6 separate regions of the Homo sapiens genome follow, and regions 1, 2, 4, 5 and 6 are each linked to region 3. Evidence: promoter capture Hi-C in human tissues and cell types (Jung and others, 2019). All regions are on one chromosome and are shown on one strand. Each heading gives the region's core, a stretch centred on a gene start or on the middle of the fragment in contact. The rest is flanking DNA. Distances are from core to core; before and after follow the strand shown. Region 1 overlaps PPP3CB (protein phosphatase 3 catalytic subunit beta). Region 2 has its middle 12 kb from the start of CFAP70. Region 3 holds the start of SEC24C (SEC24 homolog C, COPII component). Region 4 overlaps AP3M1 (adaptor related protein complex 3 subunit mu 1). Region 5 has its middle 4.1 kb from the start of ANXA7. Region 6 overlaps CFAP70 (cilia and flagella associated protein 70).

Evidence for each region. Contacts are between HindIII fragments. The study calls those that stand out against the background at their distance.
Region 1: a fragment that was not itself captured here is called in contact with the fragment with the promoter of SEC24C in region 3 in 1 of the 25 tissues and cell types used here (dorsolateral prefrontal cortex).
Region 2: a contact is called between a fragment that was not itself captured here and the fragment with the promoter of SEC24C in region 3, in 1 of the 25 tissues and cell types used here (pancreas).
Region 4: a contact is called between a fragment that was not itself captured here and the fragment with the promoter of SEC24C in region 3, in 1 of the 25 tissues and cell types used here (aorta).
Region 5: a contact is called between a fragment that was not itself captured here and the fragment with the promoter of SEC24C in region 3, in 1 of the 25 tissues and cell types used here (pancreas).
Region 6: a fragment that was not itself captured here is called in contact with the fragment with the promoter of SEC24C in region 3 in 1 of the 25 tissues and cell types used here (H1 embryonic stem cells).

What each region holds. Positions count from the first base shown.
Region 1 is chr10:73,470,278-73,474,740 of GRCh38, reverse strand. It overlaps PPP3CB (protein phosphatase 3 catalytic subunit beta), which reads left to right. Exons shown (of 14, transcript NM_021132.4): 5 at 3,128-3,273; 6 at 3,532-3,671; 7 at 3,777-3,854; 8 at 3,960-4,054. Among named protein-coding and RNA genes, the nearest start is that of PPP3CB-AS1, 23 kb to the left of the region's middle. The HindIII fragment of the contact is 5,523 bases long and covers 1-4,463 here.
Region 2 is chr10:73,368,773-73,373,010 of GRCh38, reverse strand. No RefSeq gene overlaps it. Among named protein-coding and RNA genes, the nearest start is that of CFAP70, 12 kb to the right of the region's middle. The HindIII fragment of the contact is 7,434 bases long and covers 1-4,238 here.
Region 3 is chr10:73,741,626-73,746,446 of GRCh38, reverse strand. It overlaps SEC24C (SEC24 homolog C, COPII component), which reads right to left and starts at 2,075. Exons shown (of 23, transcript NM_198597.3): 1 at 2,010-2,075. LOC124902453 (a long non-coding RNA gene) reads left to right here and starts at 2,182. Exons shown (of 2, transcript XR_007062195.1): 1 at 2,182-2,230; 2 at 3,236-3,483. RefSeq lists enhancers at 1,560-2,126, 2,027-2,456, 2,127-2,694, 1,534-2,733, 4,399-4,821. The HindIII fragment of the contact is 12,749 bases long and covers 1-4,821 here.
Region 4 is chr10:74,142,051-74,146,660 of GRCh38, reverse strand. The region is part of intron 1 of AP3M1 (adaptor related protein complex 3 subunit mu 1); the gene reads left to right. Among named protein-coding and RNA genes, the nearest start is that of AP3M1, 6.5 kb to the left of the region's middle. The HindIII fragment of the contact is 7,040 bases long and covers 1-4,610 here.
Region 5 is chr10:73,416,015-73,420,221 of GRCh38, reverse strand. No RefSeq gene overlaps it. Among named protein-coding and RNA genes, the nearest start is that of ANXA7, 4.1 kb to the right of the region's middle. The HindIII fragment of the contact is 5,847 bases long and covers 1-4,207 here.
Region 6 is chr10:73,269,399-73,273,677 of GRCh38, reverse strand. CFAP70 (cilia and flagella associated protein 70) reads left to right here. Exons shown (of 28, transcript NM_001367801.1): 25 at 661-750; 26 at 3,963-4,064. DNAJC9-AS1 (DNAJC9 and MRPS16 antisense RNA 1) reads right to left here. Exons shown (of 4, transcript NR_038373.1): 3 at 720-865. Among named protein-coding and RNA genes, the nearest start is that of MRPS16, 19 kb to the right of the region's middle. The HindIII fragment of the contact is 3,792 bases long and covers 891-4,279 here.

The sequences.
Region 1 (4,463 bases), core at 508-3,007, 270 kb after region 3:
TGGTGGGGCATGGTGGTTCACGCCTGTAATCCCAGCACTTTGGGAGGCCCAGGCAGGGGGATTGCCTGAGCTCAGGAGTTGGAGACCAGCCTGGCCAACATGGTGAAACCCCATCTCCACCAAAAATACAAAAAAAAAAAATTAGCTGGGTGTGGCGGCACACTCTTGTAGTCCCAGCTGCTCAGGAGGCTGAGGTGGGAGGATCGCTTGAGCCTGGGAATCGGAGGTCATAGTGAGCTGAGATCATGCCACTGCACGGACAATTGCCTGGGCAATAGAGTCAGACCCTGTCTCAAAAAAAAAAATTTTTTTTCATTTCAGAATTTCTTATTATGTTTAACTTTTACAAACATACTTAGAGTTTTATATATAAGTTTTAATGTTACAATTAATTTTTCTAAGCCAGGCACGGTAGCTCACGCTTGTAATCCCAGCACTTTGGGAGGCCGAGGCGGGTGGATCACCTGAGGTCAGGAGTTCAAGACCAGCCTGGCCAACACGGCAAAACCCCATCTCCTAAAAATACAAAAATTAGCCAGGCGTGGTGACATGTGCCTGTAATCCCAGGTACTCAGGAGGCTGAGGCAGGAGAATCACTTGAACCTGGGAGGCGGAGGTTGCAGTGAGCCGAGATCGCGCCATTGTACTCCAGCCTGGGCAACAAGAGCGAAACTCTGTCTCAGGAAAAAAAAATGTATATATTTTTTCTAACAGGAAAAAATAAAAACCAAAAGAAAAAAATGTTATTTTGCATTGGAGATTTTTGTCCTTCAATCTTGAGGCATTCCTGTGAGGAATCCTAACAAATTGTTTATCCTGTTACCATTGCAGATCATTTCAATCATGCTATTAATGATTGAAATTCTTCTTAAAATTTTTTTGTTTTTTTAAATATCATTGTTTTAAGACTAGTCAGGTACAGTTGGTGAAATTCTTAACCTGCAATGTTTATCCCTTTTCTCTCTCAAATTATTATAGCAATGGTAATCTAATACCTGTAAGTAACCATATGTTACAGAACAAGATTAGGCCTTTTTCACACCTCAAACCTTTGTGCTTTTTTATTATTTTTGTTATTTTTATTTTTTTTTTGAGACAGTCTCGCTCTGTCGCCCTGGCTGGAGTGCAGTGGTACAATCTCGGCTCACAGCAACCTCCTCCCGGGTTCAAGTATTCTCCTGCCTTAGCCTCCCAAGTAGCTGAAATTACAGGCATGCGCCACCACGTCCTGCTAATTTTTGTATTTTTGGTAGAGGCGGTGTTTCACCATGTTGGCCAGGCTGGTCTCTTAACTCCTGACCTCAAGTAATCCACCTGCCTCGTCCTCCCAAAGTGCTGGGATTACAGGTGTGAACCACCGCATCTGGCCTGCCTTTGTGCTTTTTAAGTTAATATTTATGACTGTATTAAGTAGAGTTAAATTCTAAAAGCAGAAATAATTTCAACGTTTTGAGACTCAAAACATGATCCAATAAAGGTCATACTAAGTAGAGACTTGCAGCAACAGGAGAAAAATACAGTGATGGGTAGTGGCAGAAGTGGCATACTCTTATAACTTCAAGGATCAGGCAGTTAACCTAAATGAGTAAGATAAGACCTGGAAAGTGCATGCTTGACCTAAAAGCAGTCAAATTAGAATTTTTATTAAACCACAGTGCTAGAAAACAGAGTCGTTAGCAGACTGCCAGTGTAGAATCTCTGGTTGCTGGATATATATATAGTTTTTTTAATATTTGAATATTACAGTATTAAAACAGGAAATAGGAACTAAGTTCTTTTTCTTTGCCTAGATAAATAACAAACCACCTACCAAAATCTCATCAAAACCAAAATAGGAATTTAAAGTTGTAAAGGAGCAAATGAAAGTGCATGATATCTCTCTAAAAGTAAATGATAGTTTGATTTGGTAGAGTTTTGTCTTTCTTGTGTTTCTATATTGGCTTCCTGCTTCACTGCCCATTTTAAAGTATTCATTGTAGGCAAGAGGAACCCCTCAGCTTTTCTGACATGAGCATGCTATTATCTTTTATTTTTCAGAAAAAATGGATGAACCTTGAATTTTGTTGTGATGATGTAGTCATCTTGCCTGTAATAAGAATAAAGTAGTCATTGACTCTTAGAATAAAATAAAGCAAGTATTAAAATGATTTTAACCTCAAGTACAGTTCTAATTTTGCCTTATTTGGCCGATAAAGGTGAAGGGTTGAGCTGTTTTTAAGAGATTTCTTTCTTTTTTTTTTTTTTTTGAGACAGAGTCTTGCTCTGTCGCCCAGGCTGGAGTGCAAGTGGCACGATCTCGGCCCACTGCAGCCTCCACCTCCTGGGTTCAAGTGATTCTTGTTCCTCACCCATTGAGTCTCTGGGATTACAGGTGCACACCAGCATGCCTGGCTAATTTTTGTATTTTTAGTAGAGACAGTGTTCTGCCATGTTGGCCAGACTGGTCTCAAACTCCTGGCCTCAAGCGATCTGCCTGCTTTGGCCTGTCAAAGTGCTGGGATTACAGGCGTGAGCCACCGTGCCTGGCCTGTTTTTAGAGATTTGACTGACTTATTTTTAACAATACGTGATGACTTTTCTGTCATCCAAAATAATTTTAGAGAGCAAATATTTTGCTTCATAAGACATAACATCATCGAGAATAATTTTAGAGAGAGCAAATATTTTGTCTTCATAAGACAGATAACTTTGCATATTTTTGTTGATTCTTATAGGGGAAGATGCTTTCCTTAAAAAAATTGTGTGCAGTAAGATTTATTCTCTGTGGTATTTACTTCTGTGACTTTTGACACTGCATAGAGTTGCCCACTACCACTATCATGATACAGAAAAGTTTTATCATGCCATAAGTTCTCTCTTGCTACCTTTTTATAGTCACCCCTTCACTCACTCTGAAGCCCTGGCCACCACTTTGCTGTTTACTGTCTATAATTTTCTTGCCATCTGTCTGTCTGTCTGTCTGGGCTATTACTACAGTTGAAACTGTAACTATCTCAATTTCATTATAAATAGCTATAAGATATAAAGGAGGGGAGAGAACAAGAAATAAAAATCTAATATATATGTTTTTAAAATGGTCACACCACCACCAGTAATGTAATTTTCAATTAGTTTTTTGTTTTTCTAGGTAAAATTAAGTATTCGGAAAGAGTCTATGAAGCTTGTATGGAAGCTTTTGATAGTTTGCCTCTTGCTGCACTTTTAAACCAACAGTTTCTTTGTGTTCATGGTGGACTTTCACCAGAAATACACACACTGGATGATATTAGGAGAGTAAGTATATATTTTACTTCCGAGATTGATTTCTATTTATAGTACATTGTTGAGTAGAGCAGAAGTTTCAAACTTCACTTCACTGCCAAGATTAGGTAATAGTAAAAATTAGTATACTGATATCTTAAGGAAATAACTTCTGTTTATTCACAATAATATAGTATGAACTGTATTCAAAGTTGGTATCGTTTTCCTATGCACATTTTATCCTTACTTTTTGATGAGTTACTTCTGTTCTTTCTTTTCTTTCTTTCACAGTTAGATAGATTCAAAGAGCCACCTGCATTTGGACCAATGTGTGACTTGTTATGGTCCGATCCTTCTGAAGATTTTGGAAATGAAAAATCACAGGAACATTTTAGTCACAATACAGTTCGAGGATGTTCTTATTTTTATAAGTAAGGAAAAATATCCAAGATTAATCACATTTTAGTTGTTAACATAGCATATGCTTCATACAGAAAAGCCATTATTTTACTTAATTTACTCTTTTTCCCCCACAGCTATCCAGCAGTGTGTGAATTTTTGCAAAACAATAATTTGTTATCGATTATTAGAGCTCATGAAGCTCAAGATGCAGGGTAAGAATTCTGTTTCCCTGACCCAAATTAACACCTAAAATATAAATCAAACTTAGTAACCATGATTGATGCTTTACGATGCATATTAAGCTATTTGTTTTGCAGCTATAGAATGTACAGAAAAAGTCAAACTACAGGGTTCCCTTCATTAATAACAATTTTTTCGGCACCTAATTACTTAGATGTCTACAATAATAAAGGTAAGATATTGTTGATAAAAAAAATTGTTAAACAACTTAGTATTTTAATTGACTTTTTTTAATATAATAAAAAAGGGGTGTTGTTTGAAACTATTAGTATCCAGATTTCTTTATAAATAACTGTAAGATGGAGGGGAGAGAACAATAAATAAAAATCCAAAATGTGAAACTAAGTAATATGTAACCCCATTCCACAACTTGTCTCTTGGAAAAGCCATTTTGTAAAACGTGCTCTGAGTTAAGTGCATCAAGCAAAACCAAACATGATTTTCTCAAACTCCCCTTTCTTAAATCTTTTCCCTTATTGAGGATGTTTTCTTATTTGTATAAAGCTGCTGCTGCTTTGATGATTTTATTTGCACTGTCTACTTGTTTAGTTTATCATGTTTCTTGTTTTATGTTCACTGAT
Region 2 (4,238 bases), core at 629-3,128, 370 kb after region 3:
ATTGTGCCACTGCACTCCAGCCTGGGTGACAGAGTGAGACTCCGTCTCAAAAAAAAAAAAAATCCATTTTGCCAGTCTTTGTCTTTTGTTTTTGTTTTTGTTTTTGTTTTCAGATGGATCTCGCGCTGTCGCCCAGGCTGGAGTGCAGTGGTGCAATCTTGGCTCACTGCAAGCTCCGCCTCCCGTGTTCACGCCGTTCTCCTGCCTCAGCCTCCGAAGTAGAGCTGGGACCACAGGTGCCCGCCACCACGCCTGGCTAATTTTTTGTATTTTTAGTAGAGACGGGGTTTCACCGTGTTAGCCAGGATGGTCTCGATCTCCTGCCCTCGTGATCCACCCGCCTCAGCCTCCCAAAGTGCTGGGATTACAGGCGTGAGCCACCGCGCCCAGCCCAGTCTTTGTCTTTTGATTAGAACGTTTAATCCTGGCTGGGCGTGGTAGCTCACACCTGTAATTCCAGCACTTTGGGAGGCTGAGGCCAGCGGATCACTTGAGATCAGGAGTTCAAGACCAGCCTAGCCAACATGGTGAGACCCCGTCTCTACAAAAAATACAAAAATTAGCCGGGTGTGGTGGCATGCGCCTATAATCCCAGCTACTCGGGAGGCTGAGGTAGGAGAATTGCTTGAACCCAGGAGGTGGAGGTTGTAGGGAGCTGAGATCATGCCACTACAATCCAGCCTGGGCTACAGAGCGAGACTCCATCTCAAAAATAAAAATTAAAAAAAAGAAAATGTAATCTATTTACATTTAAAGTAATTACTGATAAGAACTTCTGTTGTATTGCTATTTGTTCTCCATATGGCTTACTGCTTTTTTGTCCCTCATTTCCTGCATTACTGTCTTTTGTGTTTAGTTGTTTTGTAGTGAAACATTTAAATTCATTTCCCTTTGTTTTGTGTATATTCTATAGCTATTTTCTCTGTGGTTACCATGGGGATAACATTTAACATCCTAAAGTTATAACACTAAATTTATGCCAGCTTCAGTGACATATACAAACTCTTCTAACAGCTGTGTCCTCACCCCTTTTGGTTGATGTCACAAAATTACATCTTTTTACATTGTGTGACCCAAAACATAAACTAATTCTTTTAAATACATTAGTTTCTTAAATTACGTAGAATACAAAATTTGGAGTTACAAACCAAAATTACAGTTATGCTAGTGTTTAGTTTTTTTTAATGTGTTCATCTCAAATCATGTAGAAAACCAAAAGTATCGTCACAGACTATTATTACAATAACATTAGCTTTTATAATTGCCCATGTATTTACCCTTTATTGAGATCTTTATTTCTTCATGTGGCTTCAAGTTACTGTCTAGTCTCCTTTCATTTCATCCTGCAGGACTAGGACTTCTTTGAGCATTTCTTGTAGGGCAGGTCTAGTGGTAATGAACTTTCCCAGCTTTTATCTAGGAATGTCTAAATTTCTTCCTCACTTTTTAAGGACAGTTTTGCCAGATATAGGATTCTTGGGTCGACAATTTTTTTTTTAGCACTTTAACTATATCATCCAATTCTTTCTGATGAGAAATCTGCTGATAATCTTATTAAAAATATCTTGTATGTGGCAAATCACTTCTCTCTTGCTGATTTCAGGATTCTCTCTTTGGATTTAGAAAGTTTGATTAAAGGCTGGGCACGGTGGCTCACGTCTGTAATCCCAGCACTTTGGGAGGCTGAGGCAGGCGGATCACGAGGTCAGGAGATCAAGACCATCCTGGCTAACACTGTGAAACCCTGTCTCGACTGAAAATACAAAAAATTAGCTGGGCGTGGTGGTGGGCGCCTGTAGTCCCAGCTACTCGGGAGGCTGAGGCAGGAGAATGGCATGAACCCGGGAGACAGAGCTTGCAGTGAGCCGAGATCGTGCCACTGCACTCCAGCCTGCGTGACAGAGCGAGACTCCATCTTAAAAAAAAAAAAAAAAGAAACTTCGATTGATTAAAATGTGTCTTAATGTGGCTCTCTTTAAGTTCATCTACTTGGAGTTCATTGAGCTGCTTGGGTGTTTATATTCATGTCTCATAGAACTTGGGAAGCTTTTAAGCCATTATTTCTTCAAATATTTTCTCTTCCTATTTCTTGCCCATTAGAATTCCCACAATGTGTATGATGGTCCACTTGATGGTGTTTCACAGGTCCGTTAGGCTCTGTTCACTTTTCCTCAATCTTTTTTCTTTCTGTTTTTCAGACTCAGTTTCCATTGTCCTGTCTCCAATTTGACTTACTCTTTTTTTTGCTTGTTTAAATCTGCCTTTGAATCCTGCTAGTGAATTTTTGCATTTCAGTTATTGTATTTTTCAGCTCCAGAATTTGTTTGGTTTCTTTTTAGGTTTTCTATCTCTTTATTGATATTTCCATTTTCTTTATACATCATTTTCTTGGCTTTTTCCATATCTTCCTTTAGTTTTTTGATCATCTCTTTTATTTTATTTTATTTTTTTGAGACAGGGCCTCACTCCTGTCGCACAGGCTAGAGTGCAGTGGCGCAATCACAGCTTAACTGCAGCCTCGACTTACCTGGCTCAGTTGATCTCCCATGTCAGACTCCAAGTAGCTGGGACTACAGGTGTGTGCCACCACATCCAGCTAATTTTTTGTATTTTTTAGTAGAGATGGAGTTTCACTGTGTTGCCCAGGCTGGTTTCAAACTCCTGGGCTCAAGTGATCTGCCCACCTTGGCTTCCCAAAGTGTTGGGATTACAGGCATGAGCCACCACCACACCTGGCCTTATATCTTTAAGACAGTTTTTTGTTTTTGTGTTTTGAGACAAGGGTCTCGCTCTGTCACCCAGGCTGGAGTGCAGTGGCACAATCCAAGCTCACTGCAGCCTCAAACTCCAGGGCTCAAAGTGAGCCTTCTGCCTCAACATCCCAAGTAGCTAGTTAGGACTATAGACACAGGCCACTGCACCTGGCTGGCTTATTTTTTAATTCTTCTTCTTCTTTTTTTTTTTTTTTTCTCTAAGAGACAGGGTCTCACTGTGTTACCCAGGCTGCTCTTGAACTCCCAGCCTCAAGTGATCCTCTTGCCTTGGCCTCCCAAAGTGCTGGAATTATAGGCATGAACCACCACACCCAGCCTTTAAGACAGGTTTTAAAATTTTTTTGTGTAATAGATCTGTCACCAGGTCTTTTTTTAGAGACAGTTTCTGTTTATTTTTGCTTTTGATTGGGGATAGTTTCCTGTTTCTTTGTATGCCTTGTGATTTTTTTCATTGAAAATTATACATTTGGGTTTGATAATGTGGTAACTCTGGAAATTGGATTCTCCCCTTTCCCCAGGGTTTGCTATTTTTTGTTACTGTATTTGTTTATTGTTTTTTGTTTTTGTTTTTTAATTGTTGTAGGCTGTCTCTGGGCCAAGGACCATACTGAGGTATAAACTTAAGGTCTTCTCAGGTCTTTTTGAGCCTGTGCCTTTCTCTGGGTGTGGGTGGCCACTTTCTAATTTTCCCCATATATGTAGTTGCTTTTGAATGTCCTTGTCTTTAATGTCTGCCCCCCAAAGGGAGAAAAAGAGAAAAATGAAGGGTTGGGATAAAGACACACGTACCAGACCTTTCAGTCCCCTGGACGTCACTTCACCTGGAGAGGGAGAGACTTGCAACAATTGGGGGAGATGCAACAATGGCCCCTGCTTCTTTGTCTATACCCCTGTGATCAGAAGCAGTGTTCAGTAATCAGCACAGATATCTCATATTTGGAGGATAGGATACTTTTTTTGCCTATCCTGGCTCCCACAGGCTATGTGCAGGCTCCTACAGGAACAAATGCACACTCGCCTCCCACAGGATGGGTAGCTACTACTGTGCTAAGAGCGAAAATTGAAAAAGTCCAAATTGCCATCCAAGTTTTCCTCTGGAAGTTGCAAACCTTCAATAGACTCCAGAATTCCAAAATAGTTACCTCAGACAGCCTGGGTGGGGAGGCAGATTTCTGGTGCTTCCTACTCTGTCTGCCATCTTCCCAGAGTCCTTTCCCAAGCAACATATTTTTAAACTTTTAAAAATACGAGCTATAATTCATATATACAATTCACCCTTTTAAAGTGTACAATTCAGCTGTGCATAATCCCAGCACTTTGGGAAGCCAAAGCGGGAGGATTGCTTGAGCCCAGGAATTTGAGACCAACCTGGGCAAGATGGCAAGACCCCGTTGCTACAAGAAAATAATTTAAAAAATTAGCTGTGTGTGGTGGTGCATACCTGTGGTTCTAGCTGCTTGGGAG
Region 3 (4,821 bases), core at 826-3,325:
GAAACAATGTTCCCACTTTCCATTCATTCACTCTAGCATCCATTCATTCAGCAAACATCGAGTACCCTCTAGTGTGCTGAACAATTGATTTAAAATCAATCAGGCTAAAAATCTAAAACAGATCTGCTAAAATCCTTCCCCCTCAATGACAAAATTTAGGCTGAGTTACAGAAATGACATTCTTTAGCTAAACTGCCATAATACAAATGATACTCCAACCCAAGTCTTTCCACCAAAAGAGTGTATGGACCTTAAAACTGAAGGTTTTTTTTTTTTTTTTTTTTTTTTGAGACGGAGTCTCACTCTGTTGCCAGGCTGGAGTGCAGTGGCGCGATCTCGGCTCACTGCAACCTTCACCTCCTGGGTTCAAACGATTCTCCTGCCTCAGCCTCCCGAGTAGCTGGGATTACAGGCGCGTGCCACCACACCCAGCTAGTTTTTGTATTTTTAGTAGAGACAGGTTTTCACCCTGTTAGCCAGGCTGGTCTCGATCTCCTGACCTCGTGATCCACCCACCTTGGCCTCCCAAAGTGCTGGGATCACAGGTGTGAGCCACCACGCCCGGCCAAAACCGAAGCATTAAAATCAATAAAAGTTGGCCAGGCACAGTGGCTCATGCCTGTAATCCCAGCACTTTGGAAGGCCAAGTCGGGCAGATCACTTGAGGTCAGGAGTTCATGACCAGCCTGGCCAACACGGTGAAACCCAGTCTCTACTAAAAATACAAAAACTAGCCGGGCATGGTGGCACACGCCTGTAATCCCAGCTACTTGGGAGGCTGAGGCAGGAGAAATCGCTTGAACCCGGGAGGCGGAGATTGCAATAAGCCGAGATCGTGCCACTGCACTCCAGCCTGAGCAATAGAGCAAGACGCCCTTTCAAAAAAATAAAAAATAAAGGACACCTGAAAACTCTAGCAAGGTAACAGATTAAAACCAAGTGCAGAACAGGCACCAAAACTTCTTCACATAATCTGAGGAAACAGTTCAAGAATCAGGGGCAAAGTTAGAGTTAGATTTCATGGAAAAAAATCATTCACCTCATCCCTCAAGCAGAAGACTATGAATATTCTAAATTCCAATGCACTTCTCCAACTCTCCTGTTTCTGCTCCCCTTACGATTGTTATGAATCTCAGCCACCATCAAAATTATTACAATCTTGCTCATCAACACAGGGATGAATTAGAGGGCCTTTTCTAAACAGGGTCCTTCCAAGAAAACTATCTCATCACATCTACTTTCAACAGCTGTATCATTCCAATTATCCTGTAGACAGAAGGGGCCCAGAAAGCAGGAGCACTCAGAGTTGCTGCAAAGGGAACAATGGACCTCTCCCCCTTTGCTAGAAGGGCCACCTTGACTATAGAAAAGGAGCTGATCCTGGTCTAAAACTCTTTAAACTCAAAGTTATCTCAATAGCTGTTCTTCCAAACCCTAAACCTTACAGAGGTAGGTCACTGACACTAAGTTTAAAATATGTCCTCTCCCTTTATGTTTCCAAAGCCGGGGGGAGGGGTAAAGAAAGGAGCTTCTTCTCCAGAAAATAATCCCCTCAAACACATTCAAGAGCTTGGAGTCAGACTGAAGTCTCGACTCCATTCTGGGTGGATAGTCGAGGGTGACAACCCAAGGGGGCGGGGCAAGCTTCCTAGAACTCTGAAAGTAGTCAAGCCATGGAGCCTCGGAGAGCCGAGGATCAAAACCGAGAAGCCAAGTCGGCTTCTAGGGCCACGTTAAGAGAGGGGGCTGCTCTGTTAAGCACAGAGACCAAACGTCTTGCACCTTTTAACAGGCTCGGGGCAGGAAGCAGGAGCCGGAATCTGGGCCGGGAGACGAAGGGATGGTCTAGGACCTGCTCCTGGATGGTGGATGCGTGAGGTGAGGGTCTCTACCCAGGCCCCGCCCCCAGGCTCCTCCCTTCTTTCTGAAACCGGACCCCAATCTGGCCAGTAATACCCTGACCTCTCCTTTGCTTTCCTACCCGCCAACCTCCCGATGCCACTCCTCACCCGGCTCCAGATCCAGGTTAGACTTCGTTCCTAACGTCAAGGCTCCCAGGCTCCACTTCCGGTTCCGAGGGGGCCGTCCCGTCACCCCCGGAAGTTCCTCCTCCACGCTTTAGGGCCGGGCCACTTCTTCTGCCACGTCTGCATTTCGGGGACCCGGATGCCGCGCATGCGCCTCTTTCATCTTCCCATCATGGCCGCCGCCTGTGCGCCTCTGCTGAGTCGTATGTATTTCCCTCCTGACATTTTTTTTCAGATGTTCCAGTCACTTTATGGCCTCACCAACAGAAATGAGATTAAAAAGAATTTGTCAAACTATCTTTAATAATGCCCCTTCACTCTGCCTGTGACGTATTAGTGACCTCTGAGCTAGAGTCTTGTAGTCACTTCCTGGTGACCCCTGACCCCGTTGATTTCCGTCCGCTAGGTTGCTCTCACCCATGGCGTTTGCTGGTTATGAGATTTGCGGAACGTGTGGTGGTGGTAAAGGGCACCAACTGTTGTCAACCTGCATGTGGGGGTCTGAGGTCTGGCTCTACAGCTTGTAAAATGGAAATAATAATGCCCAGAGGATGAAATTAGGCCACATAGGCCGCTTGGCATCATAGTAAGCACTCAGTAAAGGTCAATTGTTATTAACCATTTTTATACAGCGCCTTTGTTTAGGTGCAGAGCTTTATCAGAGCCAAAAGATCTCTGCGCTCTGTTGGAAAAGATAGTTCCTGCAGTAATTATTAGTACCCCATTTAATGGCTAAGTAATTATAGCTAACAGTGCTAGGATTTCTTTTTCATATATGACTTCATTTGAACTTTTCAGTACTATTTGTTGATTTCATAATTTTTCGAGCACTGCTGTTGAAACTGCCTTTGCAAAATTACAACTGAGGAAATTATGATAGTGGAAGAAATCAGACTTAACCGACTCCATCTTGCTTCTAACCTTTAAGCTGTCCTTATTCATTCCTGGGTGTAGGTGGAACTAACTTTGGGGAGGAATTCAGTTTATGGTTTGAAACAAAATTGATAATAGCCCCTTCCCGAAAAGACCCCCTTCTTGCCTGGGGACCAGTCTGTCTTTACAGGACTAACAAATTAGCTACAAGATTACAAATTACAGTTTAGGGGACATGCAGCCTCTCGCTCCAAGAGTCTGAACCTCCCCAAATTGCTTTTAGGAATAACATAACTATTGTAAAACCTAAGATTAGTGCTTGAGATGTTTTGCAGACCCTGCACTCATTGGATCAGCTGACTACCTAGACCAGTAACCTGGCTCAATCAGTTCTGCCATTCCACCCAGGAACAGAAAACAGCAAGAAAACCTCACTTTGACTCCCTGTGATTCCGTCTTCAACCTGACCAATCAGCACTCCCCGCTTCCCAAGCTCCTACTCGCCAAATTATCTTTAAGAACTCTGATCCTCAAATGCTCAGGGAGACTAATTTGTGTAATAATAAAACTCTGGTCTCCCACACAGCTGGCTCTGCGTGAATTACTCTTTCTCCATTGCAATTCCCTGGTCTTGATAAATCAGCTTTGTCAAGGCAGCAGGCAGGGTGAACCCACTGAGCGCTGACATTGTGTGCCAAGCCATGTTCTTGGGTCTGGAAATAGAGCAGTGAACAAAAGTGTTTGTTCTCATATTATTGACAGTAAATATCAGTTATTCTGAGGCACAGAGTGGTTTATTCACTGAAAAATTTGCACTTTAGGCTGTGCTGGAAACTATATATTAGGCATTGAGCATGCTTTACTAAACAAGCAGATTGTTCTTGTCCTCTGTTTTGTTTTGTGACAGTCTTGCTCTGTCTCCAGGCCGGAGTGCAGTGGCCCAATCTTGGCTCACTGCAACTTCCGCCTCCTGGTTTCAAGCGATTCTTATGCCTCAGACTCCCGAGTAGCTGGGATTACAGGCATGCGCCACCACCCCAGCTAATCTTTGTATGTTTGGTATAGACAGGGTTTCACTATATTGGCCAGGATGGTCTTGATCTCCTGACGTTGTGATCCGCCCCCCTTGGCCTCCCAAAGTGCTGGGATTACAGGTGTGAGCCACTGCGCCCAGCCTGTTTTGTTTTAGAGACGATTTTGCTATGTTGCTCAGGCTGGGCTCAAGTGGTCCTCCTACCTCAGTAGGAGTAGCTGGGTAGTTGAGTAGCTAGGGCTACAGGTATGTGCCCCCACATCTGGCTAATTTTTTGTAGAGGTGAGGTCTCCCTGTGTTGCCCAGGGTGGTCTCAAATTCCTCCCACCTTAGCCTTCCAAATTGCTGAGATTACAGGTGTGAAGCCACCACACCTGACCTATCAGTTTATAGTCAGTGGTTAAGTGTGATCCTCAGATCAGCAGTATCAGTAACACCTGGAAACTTGCTTGAAATGCAAATTTCAGACCCGCTTTACATAGATAAGAGCCAGAAATTCTGGAGGTGGGGCCCAGCAAGCTATGGTTTAAGGCCCTCCAGGTGATTCCATTGCTGATTGAGAACCACTAGTCTAGATGAATAATTTGCCAAATTCAACTAAGATATGTTGAGCACCTGACCTAAACTGGTCCTCTGCTAAGCATTTTCACATGATTCATCCCACTTGACTCATATCGATATAGGAAAGTAAATATCCTCTGTCTTGCTTAAGGTTGCACCCACTAGGGCCGGGCATGGTGGCTCATGCCTGTAATCCTAGCACTTTGGGAGGCCGAGACAGGCGGATCACCTGAAGTCAGGAGTTTGAGAGCAGCCTGGCCAACCCTGTCTCTGCTAAAAATACAAAAATTAGCTGGATGTCGTGGCACATGCCTGTAATCCCAACTA
Region 4 (4,610 bases), core at 2,046-4,545, 400 kb before region 3:
ATAATAGTTTTTTGAATATATTTATTTGGGTCAGATGTATCCAGAATTGGTCAAATTACACAGGACCAGGCCAAGTGACACATCTCTCTCATCTCCACACACCCCCTCCTCCAAGCCTAAATGTTTTTTAGCACAAAACCTAAATGTTTCTCTTATCTTTTCACTGTACCCCATCCTCATAGTCAAGACTCTAGACCAGGCCATCACCACTCATCTCCCAACTGGTGTCACAGTGTTCAGTTACCGATTATCCAGTTTCCGCAGTGTAATTAGTATGATCTTTCTAAAAATGTAAATCGGATTGCATGATTAATTAAAAAAATTATAAAATGACTTTACATTGCACTAAGAATAAAGTCCAAACTCCTTAACAAGTTTAGCATGCTCCATGAACCAATCAGTCTCTGCTTACCTCCTTGTCCAGTTTCATCTCCCCTCTTCCCTCCACCTTCCATATTTGCTAAATTTATACTGGATTTATTTGTCTTGTGTTCTCTCTCACCTCTAAGCCTTGTAGATTCCCACAGCACACTATATTTCCTGTATCATCGTAGGAATTACATCTTAACTGTATTAAGTTGTCTTCTCTGCTCATCTCTAAATGCTGTGAGTATAGGAACTCTAATTTTGTTTGTTCTTATATACCCAGTGCCTCAAAACTCTGTGTTGAATGAATATGTGGTCAAGATATTGGCTGAGAATCAGAAGAGTAGATGCTTTTCTGGTCTCATTCTCTCAAGTTCAGTATAGGCCCTTCTGTGCCTCCATCATATTATATATAGAAGGAATACATTTTTGTTTTTAGACACTGTCTTCCAAGAATATTTTGACTATTGTAAATGCATTGCTTGTGAATTACCCAGGATGATTATAAAATGTTTAGTAAAAAGGATTTATGATGTATTTAAGCTGCAGTCAAAGCTCTGGTGGGTCTGCCTCTGAACACAGTTTCTTCTAGTGGCTTTTAAATAAGCTGGGAGAATTCTGTTTTATGACTCAAAAGCCACTAGGAACAAAAAGATGGTTGTGGTAATAATGAGTGTGTAGTTTTCTCAGAAAGTTTATGAAAATAATAATTAAAAAAATAACTGCAGCTACCAAAAGGACGATAAATAAAGAAACAGGCTAATTTACACTGCAACATGGTATTATTTAATTGTTATATGCATTAGACCTTGGTCATAATATGGATAGAAGAAGTAAGCTCTCTTTTCCTATTATAGAAGGTTAAGATGGGTTTTAAAGCTAAGCACAGTCGAGAACTTACAAGTGTTATGCTTTCATCTCAGCACTAAGGATAACAACAATAAATCTAGGAGGCTGGTTTAACTTTCTGTATTCTGAGACCTGAACTACTGCCAATAAAAACAACTTCGGTGGAAACTTTCCTGGAAAGAATTTTTCACCAGCTTAAGAGGATGAGTAGAGATCTGGCCCTAAAATAAAGTAACTACAAAATCACTTACTTTCAAAACAAGCAACTCTTTCAGAGTGTATTGTGGCAAAGGAGCACTATAAATCCTTGTGAACTATATTTTCGATAGGATGAATGATTTTAGATAACCTGTGTCGGTGCTTTTAAATATAACTTCCACTCTAAATAATTTATTAAACTTCCTCAGCATAACAACTAGAATGTCTTTTGCCTCCTAACTAAACAAGAAATGTCTTTTACCTCCTCCTCTTAAATCATAAGCTAGGCTGGGTGCAGTGGCTCATGCCTGTAATCTCAGCACTTTGGGAGGCTGAGGCGGGCGGATCACGAGGTCAGGAGTTCGAGACCAGCCTGGCCAACATGGTGAAACCCCATCTCTACTAAAAATACAAAAAATTAGCTGGGCATGGTGGCGCATGCCTGTAATCCTAGCTACTCGGGAGGCTGAGGCAGGAGAATCGCTTGAACCCAGCAGGCGGAGGTTGTGGTAAGAGGAAATCGTGCCATTGCACTCCAGCCTGGGCAATAGAGCAAGACTCCGTCTCAAAAAAAAAAAAAAATCATAAGCTAAAGCAGCACATTCATGCACTGTTCAATATATTAACTACTAACCATATATGGTTATTTAAATTTAAATTAATTAAAATTAAAACTTCAGGCTAGGCTTGGTGGCTCACACCTGTAATCCCAGAACTTTGGGAGATCAAGGTGGGAAGATCACTTGAGCCCAGGAGTCCAGGATCAGCCTGGGCAATATAGGCAGACTTTGTCTCTACAAAACAAAAATTTGAAACTCAGCTGTGTGTGGTGATGCACGCCTGTAAGCCCAGCTACTCAGGAGACTGAAGTGGGAGGATCGCTTGGGCTCTGGAGGTGGGCGTTGGAGTGAGCCAAGATGACGCAGCTGCACTCCAGCCTGGGCAACAGAGCGAGACCCTATCTCAAAAAAAAAATAAAAATAAAAAAGCCGGGCATGGTGGCTCACGCCTGTAATCCCAGCACTTTGGGAGGCCGAGGCGGGTGGATCATGAGGTCCGGAGATCGAGACCATCCTGGCTAACATGGTGAAACCCCATCTCTACTAAAAATACAAAAAATTAGCCAGGCGTGGTGGCGGGCTCCTGTAGTCCCAGCTACTCGGGAGGCTGAGGCAGGAGAATGGTGTGAACCTGGGAGGCGGAGCTTGCAGTGAGCAGAGATCACGCCATTGCGCTCCTGTCTGGGAGACAGAGCAAGACTCCGTCTCAAAAAAAAATTAATTAAAATTTCAAAAAAATTAAAACTTCAGTATTGGGTACATTAGCCACATTTCAAGTGCTCAATAGCCATGGGTGTAGTGGCTACCATATTAGCACAGATAAAGGACATTTCCATCATTGCAGAAAGCCCTGTTGGACAGTGCTGTATTAGAACGTGTTCCTAATAATTAGTCTCTACAAGGCAGATAAGAGCAGGAGCTCAGAATTCAGCTGGATTTAGGTTTGAATCCTAGCTTACTGCGTGATCTTAGGTAATTGACCTAACTTTTCTGAGATGACATTGTCTTATCTGTAAAATGGGGATAATAGTAGTATTTATGGTGTAGCATTGTGAAAATAAGATGAGATAAAGTGTCTAGCATAGTGTCTGGCCCATAATAAGTACTCAATACATTTTAGATAGTATTAATTCATTTATTATTCATTATCTTTAATGAATAAAACACTTTGAATGGGGACTGAGTACAGTAGCTTCACTTTGGGAGGCGAAGGCAGGCGGATCACTTGAGGCCAACATGGTGAAACCCCATTTCTACTAAAAACAGAAAAACTAGCTGGGCATGGTGGTGCACACCTGTAATCCCAGCTACTGAGGAGGCTGAGGCACGAGAATTGCTTGCCCATGGGAGACGGAGGTTGCAGTCAGCAGAGATCACACCACTGCACTCCAGCCTGGGTGACAGTGGGAGACTCTGCTCAAACAAACAAACAAGCTTTGTTCCCAAGTAGCTGGGATTACAGGCGCACGCCACCATGCCCGGCTAATTTTTGTATTTTTAGTAGAGACAGGGTTTTGCCATGCTGGCCAGGATGGCCTTGAACTCCTGACCTCAGGTAATCCACCAGTCTTGGCCTCCCAAAGTGCTGGGATTACAGGCGTGAGCCACTGTGCCTGGCCAAAAATAACCACATTGAATGGGGCCAAAAGATTAATTTTTGCAAAGAATGCTGTGTTCCATATGTGACTCACCTGAAGTGCCCAAATCTGAGTCTGCTTGTGGATTACAGTGCTCCACTTGAAGTCATACATTATATATTTCAGATGCTGATTTTCTTCCAAGAAAAAGGTGTAATAATAAAAATTTAGTTGCAGATCTTATGGTTGGATATTCCTGTTTCATTTAAAAAATGAAAATGAAAAGTTTATCAGCTAAAGATTATAGTTAAAATCAGCAGGTTCTATATAGCAAGTCTAAGTATTCTAATGGCACTTATATTAATACCCAGACAGAAATATAAGACACAAAGCAAGCCTACTAAGCAAAGCATCTGACTAGATAAAGTAGAAAAATTTGGCAGGTTCCAACCCTGAGGTGTCAGAGTTTATTGCTAATAACTCAAGTTGATTTCTTGGCTAAACAGAGGGCTTTAAACAAAGAAATTTTTTGGTTCTAATTAAACAGGAACCCTAAACTGTTAACAGTATTCATACTTTATTAATACAATAATTACTAAAACATATCTTAGTAACTAGTATTATTGATAACTACTGAACATGTGTCGAATGGGAAGAGGAGATCATCACCACATATTCTTTAAATGTCAGCCGCTTTCATAAAAGAAAGGGTTGATGTTGTTTTCTGTCAACAGAATCAAATGAATCAATTCTGGAAAGTCTTCCTTTCCTCTTTGGAATTTATCTTCATTCATAGAAACTGTATTCATAGGTCTTAAATTCTTTCTTCTTAGACTATAGTACTATTACTTGGAATGATTGAGCCACTAGACTAAACACCTGATACTGGTGCTTATACACGTAAAAGATAGGAACAAGGTAAGATAATTAGACATTTTTCCATTGTCCCCCATATTGCAGGGACAATAAACTTCTTATAGGAAGCATAACTAACACTCAGAAAGTATGCAAATCACAATGTAAAGCCTAATGAGTTATCATAGAAGGAACACAGCTTGTA
Region 5 (4,207 bases), core at 63-2,562, 330 kb after region 3:
TTCAAGATGAGCCTAAGCAACATAGACCTATCTCTACAAAAAAAAAAAAATTAGTGGGCATGGTGGCGCATGCCTGTAGTCACACTACCTGGGAGGCTGAGGTGGAAAGATCGCTTGAGCCCAGGAGGCTGCAGTGAGCCATGATCGCACTCCAGCCTGGGTGACAGAGCGAGATCCTGTCTCAAAAAAAAAAAAAAAGAATGAGAGAAAATATTAATAAATTATATATCTGATAAGGGACCTACAACTTAAAAGGACAGATAACCCAATTAAAAATGGGCAAAGGATCTGAACAGACATTTCTCCAAAAAAGATGTATAAAGGGCCAATAAGTACATGAAAAGATGCTCAACATCATCAATCATTAAGGTATACAAATTAAAATTATAATGAGATACCACTTCATACCCACTACGATGGCTATGATGAAAAAAAGAGGTAGTAACAAATGTTGATGAGGATGTGAAGAAATTGTAACCTTCATACACTGCTGGTGGGAATGTAAAATGATGCAGCCAATTTGGAAAACAGTCTGGCAGTTCCTCAAACAGTTAAACATTGAGGGCCAGGTAATGATGACTCACGCCTGTAATCCCAGCACTTTGGGAGGCTGAGCTAGGAGTACTGCTTAAAGCAAGGAGTTTAAGACCAGCCTGGGCAACGAATCAAGACCCTGTCTCTTTAAAAAAAAAAAAAAAGTTAAAAATTGACTTACCATTTGACCCAGAAGTTTTGCTCATAGGTTTGTACCCATGAGAAATGAAATCATATGTATATAAATATTCATAGCAGCATTATTCATGACAGCCAAAAGATGAAAACAACCAAAATATCCATCAGCTTATGAATGGATAAGCAAAATGTGGTAAATCCTTACAAGGAAATAGTATTTGACCATAAAAGTAATGAAATACTGATTCATGTTACAATATGAAAGCCAGTTACAAAAGACTACATATTGTACAAGTGCATTTATATGAAATGTTCAGAATAGGCAAGTCTATGGAGACAAAGTAGATTAGTGGCTACATGTGGAGGGGAAGGATGGGGGTATTGGGGGCGACGGGTAAAGGATATGGGATATAACCATTCTAAAATTGATTGTGGTGGTAGATGCACAACTCTGAATGTACTAAAAATCATTGAATTGTACACATTATATGGGTGAATTATATTTCAATAAAGCTATTACCAAATTTTTCTAATCTTAGAGAATGTAAAAAATAAGGATATTTAAATCCTTAACACAGTACCTAGCAAATAGTATGTCCTTAGTAGCTATTATTTGATAAATATCATTTTGAATTTTGCTCAGTAACACAGATTGAACTAGCAGTAGTGTGTAAGATGGTTTGGTAATGGAAAATCCAGTTAGGACACTATTGTCATGGTTCAGACGAGATAATGTAGGTGTCAGCTAAGATTATATCAGTAGGTATGGAGAGCAAGAGGTAATTTTTAACTACAAGTAAAGTAAATAGTGACATTTTGCAGGTAGAACATGAAAGTAAAATCTAGGATTTGTTTGCTGATTGTGATGGATGAAGGGTGATGTATCTGTCAGCCAGAATATAATTAGAAACTACACAGTAACAGGTGGCGCAAAAACATCCAATTTAGTAGAATGGTGGTGATAGTACACAAAAGTCCAAATGCCTAGCTTATTGTCAAATGCTGAGGATTCTAAGATGGCTTCTGCCCTTATAGGAGACTGACATAAGCAAGGACAATATAATGGAGTTATGTTTTCTAAAGTCAGCATATGAAATGAAAAAAAATTTTCAAAACTACCTTTGAAAATCCTTTAGGGTAGCACATGGGTTCTCTCAGTAGGTCTATCAGAGCCAGTTTTTCCCAGTGCTGGAAATAAATCTGTATTTGGCTGATCACCAGACGAAGTAGTTGGCTTGGGTTTTGGGGGCCCTATTGTAGTCAATCAGACAATCAATTATTTATCAAACACTCACTACTAGGCTCTAAAGATATCCCTGTTCTCAAGGAGCTTACATTCTAGATGGGGACAGAAACAGTAAACACACAGAATTTCAGATGCTTTTTTTTTTTTTTTTTTTTTTTTTTTTTTTTTTTTTGAGACGGAGTCTCGCTCTGTCGCCCAGGCTGGAGTGCAGTGGCGGGATCTCGGCTCATTGCAAGCTCCGCCTCCCGGGTTCACGCCATTCTCCTGCCTCAGCCTCCCAAGTAGCTGGGACTACAGGCGCCCGCCACTACGCCCGGCTAATTTTTTGTATTTTTAGTAGAGACGGGGTTTCACCGTTTTTAGCCGGGATGGTCTCGATCTCCTGACCTCGTGATCCGCCCGCCTCGGCCTCCCAAAGTGCTGGGATTACAGGCGTGAGCCACCGCGCCCGGCCAGAATTTCAGATGCTTTTAAGTGGTATAAGGAAAATTAAATAATGAGCATAGCTGCTAGTGGTGGTTGTGCTGGTGGCAGCTACTAATGTTCAGGAAATACCTTGAGGAGATGACATTTTTTGTTTGTTTTTTTGAGATAGGGTCAGGCTCTGTCACCCAGGCTGGAGTGCAGTAGTGAGATCTTGGCTTACTACAGCCTCTGCCTCCCAGGTTCAAGTGATTCTCCCCTGTGAGCCTCCTAAGTAGATGGATTACAAGTGCACACTACTATGCCTGACTAATTTTTGTGTTTTTTGTAGAGATGGGGTCTCGCCATGTTGCCCAGGCTGGTCTCCAACTCCTGGGTTTCAGTGATCTGCCTGCCTTGGGCCTCCCAAAGTGCTAGGATTATAGGTGTGAGCCAACTCACCCAGCCAGGAGACCACATTTGAGATGACACCATGGAGAACATTCCCAGTAGAAGCAATAGCAAGTGCCAAGGTCCTGAGAATCTGGTGCATTTGGTCACAAGCTTGGTATGTTTGGACCGAAGGCCACTGTGTTCAGAGGTTAGTGATTAAGGAAAGTGAAGGCCAGGCGCCGTGGCTCACGCCTGTAATCCCAGCACTTTGGGAGGCCGAGGCAGGTGGATCACGAGGTCAGGAGATCAAGACCATCCTGGCTAACATGGTGAAACCCCGTCTCTACTAAAAATACAAAAAAATTAGCTGGGCGTGGTGGCAGTCACCTTTAGTCCCAGCTACTTGGGAGGTTCAGCCAGGAGAATGGTGTGAACCTGGGAGGCGAAGCTTGCAGTGAGCTGAGATTGCACCACCGCACTCCAGCCTGGGCGACAGAGCAAGACTCCGTCTCAAAAAAAAAAAAAAAAAAGTGAAAAGGGATTAGATGAGCGATGTAGGCAGGGACCAGATTATCTAGGGCTTAATAGACCATCAGGAGTTTGGATTTTATTTTATTCTGGTTCCAGTGGGAAGCTATTAAAAAAGTTTAATCACGGGAATTACATGACCCAATTTATTCTTTAGAAAGATCACTCTGACTCAGGGTTTCTTAACCTCAGCACTATTGACTTTTTGGGCTGAATAATTCTTTGTGTAGGGACTGTAGGCATTGTAGGATACGTACCTTGTTTAGAATCCTTGGCTTTCACCCACTAGATGCTAGTAACCCCACCACCTCCCCTCAGTTGTGACAAACAAAGATGTCTCCACACATTGTCAGGTGTCCCTGAGGGACAAAATTACTATTCTAATGGAACAAAAAGGATATGAACTTAAATACCAGACTCTGGGCCAGGCGTGGTGGCTCACACCTGTAATAATCCCAGCACTTTGGGAGGCCGAGGTGGGTGGATCACCTGAGGTCAGGAGTTCGCCTGGGCAACATGGCAAATCACCGTCTGTATTAAAAATATAAAAATTTAGGCCGGACGTGGTGGCTCATGCCTGTAATCCTAGCACTTTGGGAGGCTGAGGCGGGTGGGTCATGAGGTCAGGAGATCGAGACCATCCTGGCTAACACAGTGAAACCCTGTCTCTACTAAAAATACAAAAAATTAGCCAGGCGTGGTGGTAGACACCTGTAGTCCCAGCTACTCGGGAGGCTGAGGCAGGAGAATGGCGTGAACCCAGGAGGCAGAGCTTGCAGTGAGCCGAGATCGTGCCACTGCATTCCATCCAGCCTGGGCAACAGAGTGAGACTCTGTCTCAAAAAAAAAAAAAAAAAAAAAAAAAAAAAAAGCTGGGCGTGGTGGCGGATGCCTGTAATCCCAGCTACTTGGGAGGCTGAGGCAGGAGAATTCGTTGAACCTGGGAAGCAGAGGTTGCAATGAGCT
Region 6 (4,279 bases), core at 1,537-4,036, 470 kb after region 3:
ACTGTAGTGAAGTATATAAGGAGAAGTTTTCTTTCTGATGTCATTGAAAGCTGCATCTTCAGAGCACTGCTGACTTAGGCAGACCCCGGGCAAGCAGGTCTTAGGCTGTTTGCTGAGGCTCAGCTATAGATGTATCTCATGTTGGAGATACAGGACAAGAAATTGTCCCTTCAGGGCTATGTCCTTTGAAAGTTTGTCTTCTGAGTTTTTCTAAAATTCTAAGATCTTTTACAACAAAGGTGTAAAATGATGAGGCTGTATCAAGTATACCTTTTAGTCCAGAGATTGTATGTTTGTCATGCCACCACATGATGTTGCATTTAAGTGAAAGGGAGTAATCCATGAAGTGGAGGTGGAATTCAGATAATCATGATGGTTGCCCCCACTTTCAGTGTAACTCCTTGCCTCAACTCTTACAGAGACTATAAATGTCTTTGGAACTACTTCCAAGTGAAAGTCTGCTCTTTCATGTGATCTATCCATCTCCTCTCACCAATCTTCTTGCGATAACTCCCTTAAGGTAGACGTCAAAGTACAATTAAAGGACTTGCTTAACTTAGATTGTTCTGGAGAGCAATTATCAGAGATCCCATGATCATCCCAGCAATATGGGGTTTGAAGCTTCTAGAACAGTAGCTTAGTGGTGCTTTCTTTCTACAGTATGAAAAGGCAAAGAAAACCTATATGCAAGCCTGTAAGAGATCACCTTCATGCCTTACCTGGCTAGGACTGGGAATCGCCTGCTATCGGGTAAGAGGATGAAGGCTTGAGACTAGGGCTGTGGATACAGCTGACCTTGATTCCTTGGCCTTCCAAGCATCCTGGGGGTTTGTGATGACATTGGAATAGCAATCAGGGCTGTCTGCTGTAATGAAAAGTTGTTCTTCAAAGGTGTTCAGTGAACTGAAGGTCACTTAACTAGCTAGAAAAATAAAAGATCTTTTTAAAAAATCCCAGAAAAACCTGAACCAAGAAGCTACATAATAAAAAAAATTCATGTTATTTGGTATAGACACTCCTTTGTGATATTATCTGTAAGAAAAAGGTGATATGGGAGATGAAGAATCTATTCAAGTCAATTAAAGAAATTGATTGACACTTACTAAGCACTGTGACCCTTTGATATGCAGGAGGAGTTGCTGTAACTTCTGGCAGAAGCTTTTGCTCTGCTTCTCCTAAAAACTCTTTACTTAACCTTCCCTCATTTCCTCCAGTCTTCAAAGAGGCAAACATCCTCTTGTTCCTGCCTAATTTCTTCAGGCATATTATTGACTCCATGTCTCTCCCTTTCTTTGAATAGCTTACTCACTTATTTATTTATTTATTTATTTATTTGAGATGGAGTCTCGCTCTGTCTCCCAGGCTAGAGTGCAGTGGTGCAGTGGTGTCACCTCAGCTCACTGCAACCTCTGCCTCCTGGGTTCAAGTGATCCTCCTGCCTCAGCCTCCTGAGTAGCTGGGATTACAGGTGCCCACCACCATGCCAGGCTAATTTTTGTATTTTTAGTAGAGATGGGGTTTCACCATATTGACCAGGCTGGTTTTGAACTCCTGACCTCAAGTGATCCACCCCAAAGTGCAGGGATTACAGGTGTGAGCCACCTCACTTAGCCCCTCATTGCTGTTTTTCAGCCATAAAGATAATATGTGTTCATTATAGAAACTTTAGAAGAAGCCAGGAGCAGTGGCTCACACCTGTAATTCCAGCACTTTGGGAGGCTGAGGCTGAAGGATCTCTTGAACCTAGGAGTTTGAGAGAAACCAACCTGGGCAACAGAGCAAGACCCCCATCTCTACAAAAACATTAAAAATTAACCAGGCATGGTGGCATGTGCCTGTAGTCCCAGATACTTGGAAGGCTAAGGTGGGAGGATTGCTTGGTGGGAACACAGAAGTTAGAGGCTGCAGTGAGCCATGATTGTGCCACTGCACTCCAGGCTGGGTGACAGAGCAAAACCTCACCTCTAAAAATAAATAGACAAATAGATACAAAATATGAAGAAAACATTAAAGTATCCGTAACTCCACAAGTTGGTGATAACCACTGTTAACATTTGAATGTACTTTCCTCCCGTCTTTTTTCATATATATGAAAGCAATTTTAATGTATAAAATGTAAATATTTACTGCTTTGTAACCTTTTTTCGACTTAACAGTATAGTATTGGTATCTTCTTATAGCTCTGTCACCCAAGCTGGAGTGCAGTGGCGCCATCTTGGCTCACTGCAACCTCTGCCTCCTGGGTTCAAGTGATTCTCCTGCCTCAGCCTCCTGAATAGCTGGGATTACAGGCATGTGCCACCACACCCAGCTAATTTTTGTGTTTTTAGTAGTCACAGGATTTCGCCATGTTGGCCAGGCTGGTCTCAAACTCCTGTCCTCAGGTGATCCTCCCACCTCGGCCTCCCAAAGTGCTGGGATTACAGGCGTGAGCCACCGCACCCGGCCTGTGTTTTGTTTTTCACACATCTGTCAGTGAGCCCTTTGAGGGCAGATATTGTATTTTATTTATTTACTTGAGACAGGATCTTGCTCTGTCACCCAGGCTGGTGTACAGTGGCTCAATCTCAGCTCATTGCAATCCCTGCCTCCGGGGCTCGGTTGATCCTCCTGCGTCAGCCTCCTGAGTACCTGGGACTACGGGATTTTATTTTTTTACTCCCAGCATCTAGCATACTGCCTGACACAGAGCAAATCCTTGGCAAATGTAGGTTGATTAAATAATGAATCAATGTCTCAGAGACTTCAAAGTGTGGGCCAAAGTATGGGTGTGGGTGAAAGGCCATCTCTTGTCTTTGGCCTAGAAACCCATTATTTAATTATTTTAAAGCAGAAAAAGTAGGCTGGACACAGGTGGTTCATGCCTGTAATCCCAGCACTTTGGGAGGCCAAGGTGGGCAGATCACTTGAGGCCAGGAGTTTGAGACCAGTCTGGCCAATGTGGTGAAACCCCGTCTGTACTAAAAATACAAAAATTAGCTGGGTGTGGTGGTGGGCACCTGTAATTCTAGCTACTTGGGAGGCTGAGGCAAGAGAATCGATTAAACCTGGGAGGCGGAGGTTGCAGTGAGCTGAAATCATGCCATTGCACTCCAGCCTGGGCAGTACAGCGAGACTCTGTCGAAGAGAAGGGAAGGGGAGGGGAGGGGAGGGGGAGGGGAGGGGAGGGGAAGGGAAGGGAAGGAAAAGAAAAGGAAAAGAAAAGAGAAAAGAAAAGGGTGGCTGGGGAGGGGAGGGGAGAGGAGAGAGGAGAGGAGAGGAAAGAAAAGAGAAAAGAAAAGAAAAAAGAAAGGAAAAAAAGAGCTACTTTACTGGGGAAGGGAGAGCCTTTTGGAATGTTTTACAAAGCAACAAAGCAAACTCACAGTTTTAGGAAGCAGCAACAATTTCCACGTGCCCAGAGCCCAGAGTGCACCCTAGAGTTTCTGAATACTGCATTGATTGCTCGGGATTGGGCTGTTAATAACTGATACTAGGGGAAAGAAAGCTTTCTGGACAATAGTATTTCAACAGGCAAATCAGATTTTTACCTCAAGAAAAGGATGCACAATGTAAAGAAAAAAAACTATAAATGTATCTGACAGCCCACTGTGTGTGGAGAAATCACTGAATGATGCACACATGAGAGTGAGTTCCTGTGGATTTCCAACCTTGCACCTGAAACTCCATGGTTTATAGATGTCCTGATGGGACCGCTGTAGAGGGAAGGAAGAAAGGGGTATAAGTTAAGAGCTTACTAGGCAGGGCTTCAGAATCCCCGACCTGGCTTTTTAATCAGAGCTCTTCTACTTTTAATTGGTTCATATATTGAACCACCACATAAGATTTCCTTTGAAGAAAAGAGTTCTGATGCTAAAAATATTAAAAAGTTGAAAACCATTGGTATAGGTCATATACACCAGTATTATTGGGACATAGTGGTTTCAGCTAAGCTAACTCACATGTCTCATTTTTCTGTCAAGCTGGAGGAGCTCACAGAGGCTGAGGATGCTCTTTCTGAAGCCAATGCATTGAACAACTACAATGCTGAAGTATGGGCATATCTGGCTCTGGTCTGCCTGAAAGTGAGTGTTTATTATCCTTACACAATGCCCTTTTAGGGCACAGAGGTGAGGGGTCAAGTAAGCAAGGGGCAGCAGATGGCCATTAATGCATGGTAGCTGAAATCTGATAAGCTCTAGGTGTAATCATTATGCTGATGACAAAGGAAGGGCCAAGTCTGGGCAGGCTGTACTTGGAACATGCTTAAAAATAATATATTTAGGTGTGTTTCTCTGGA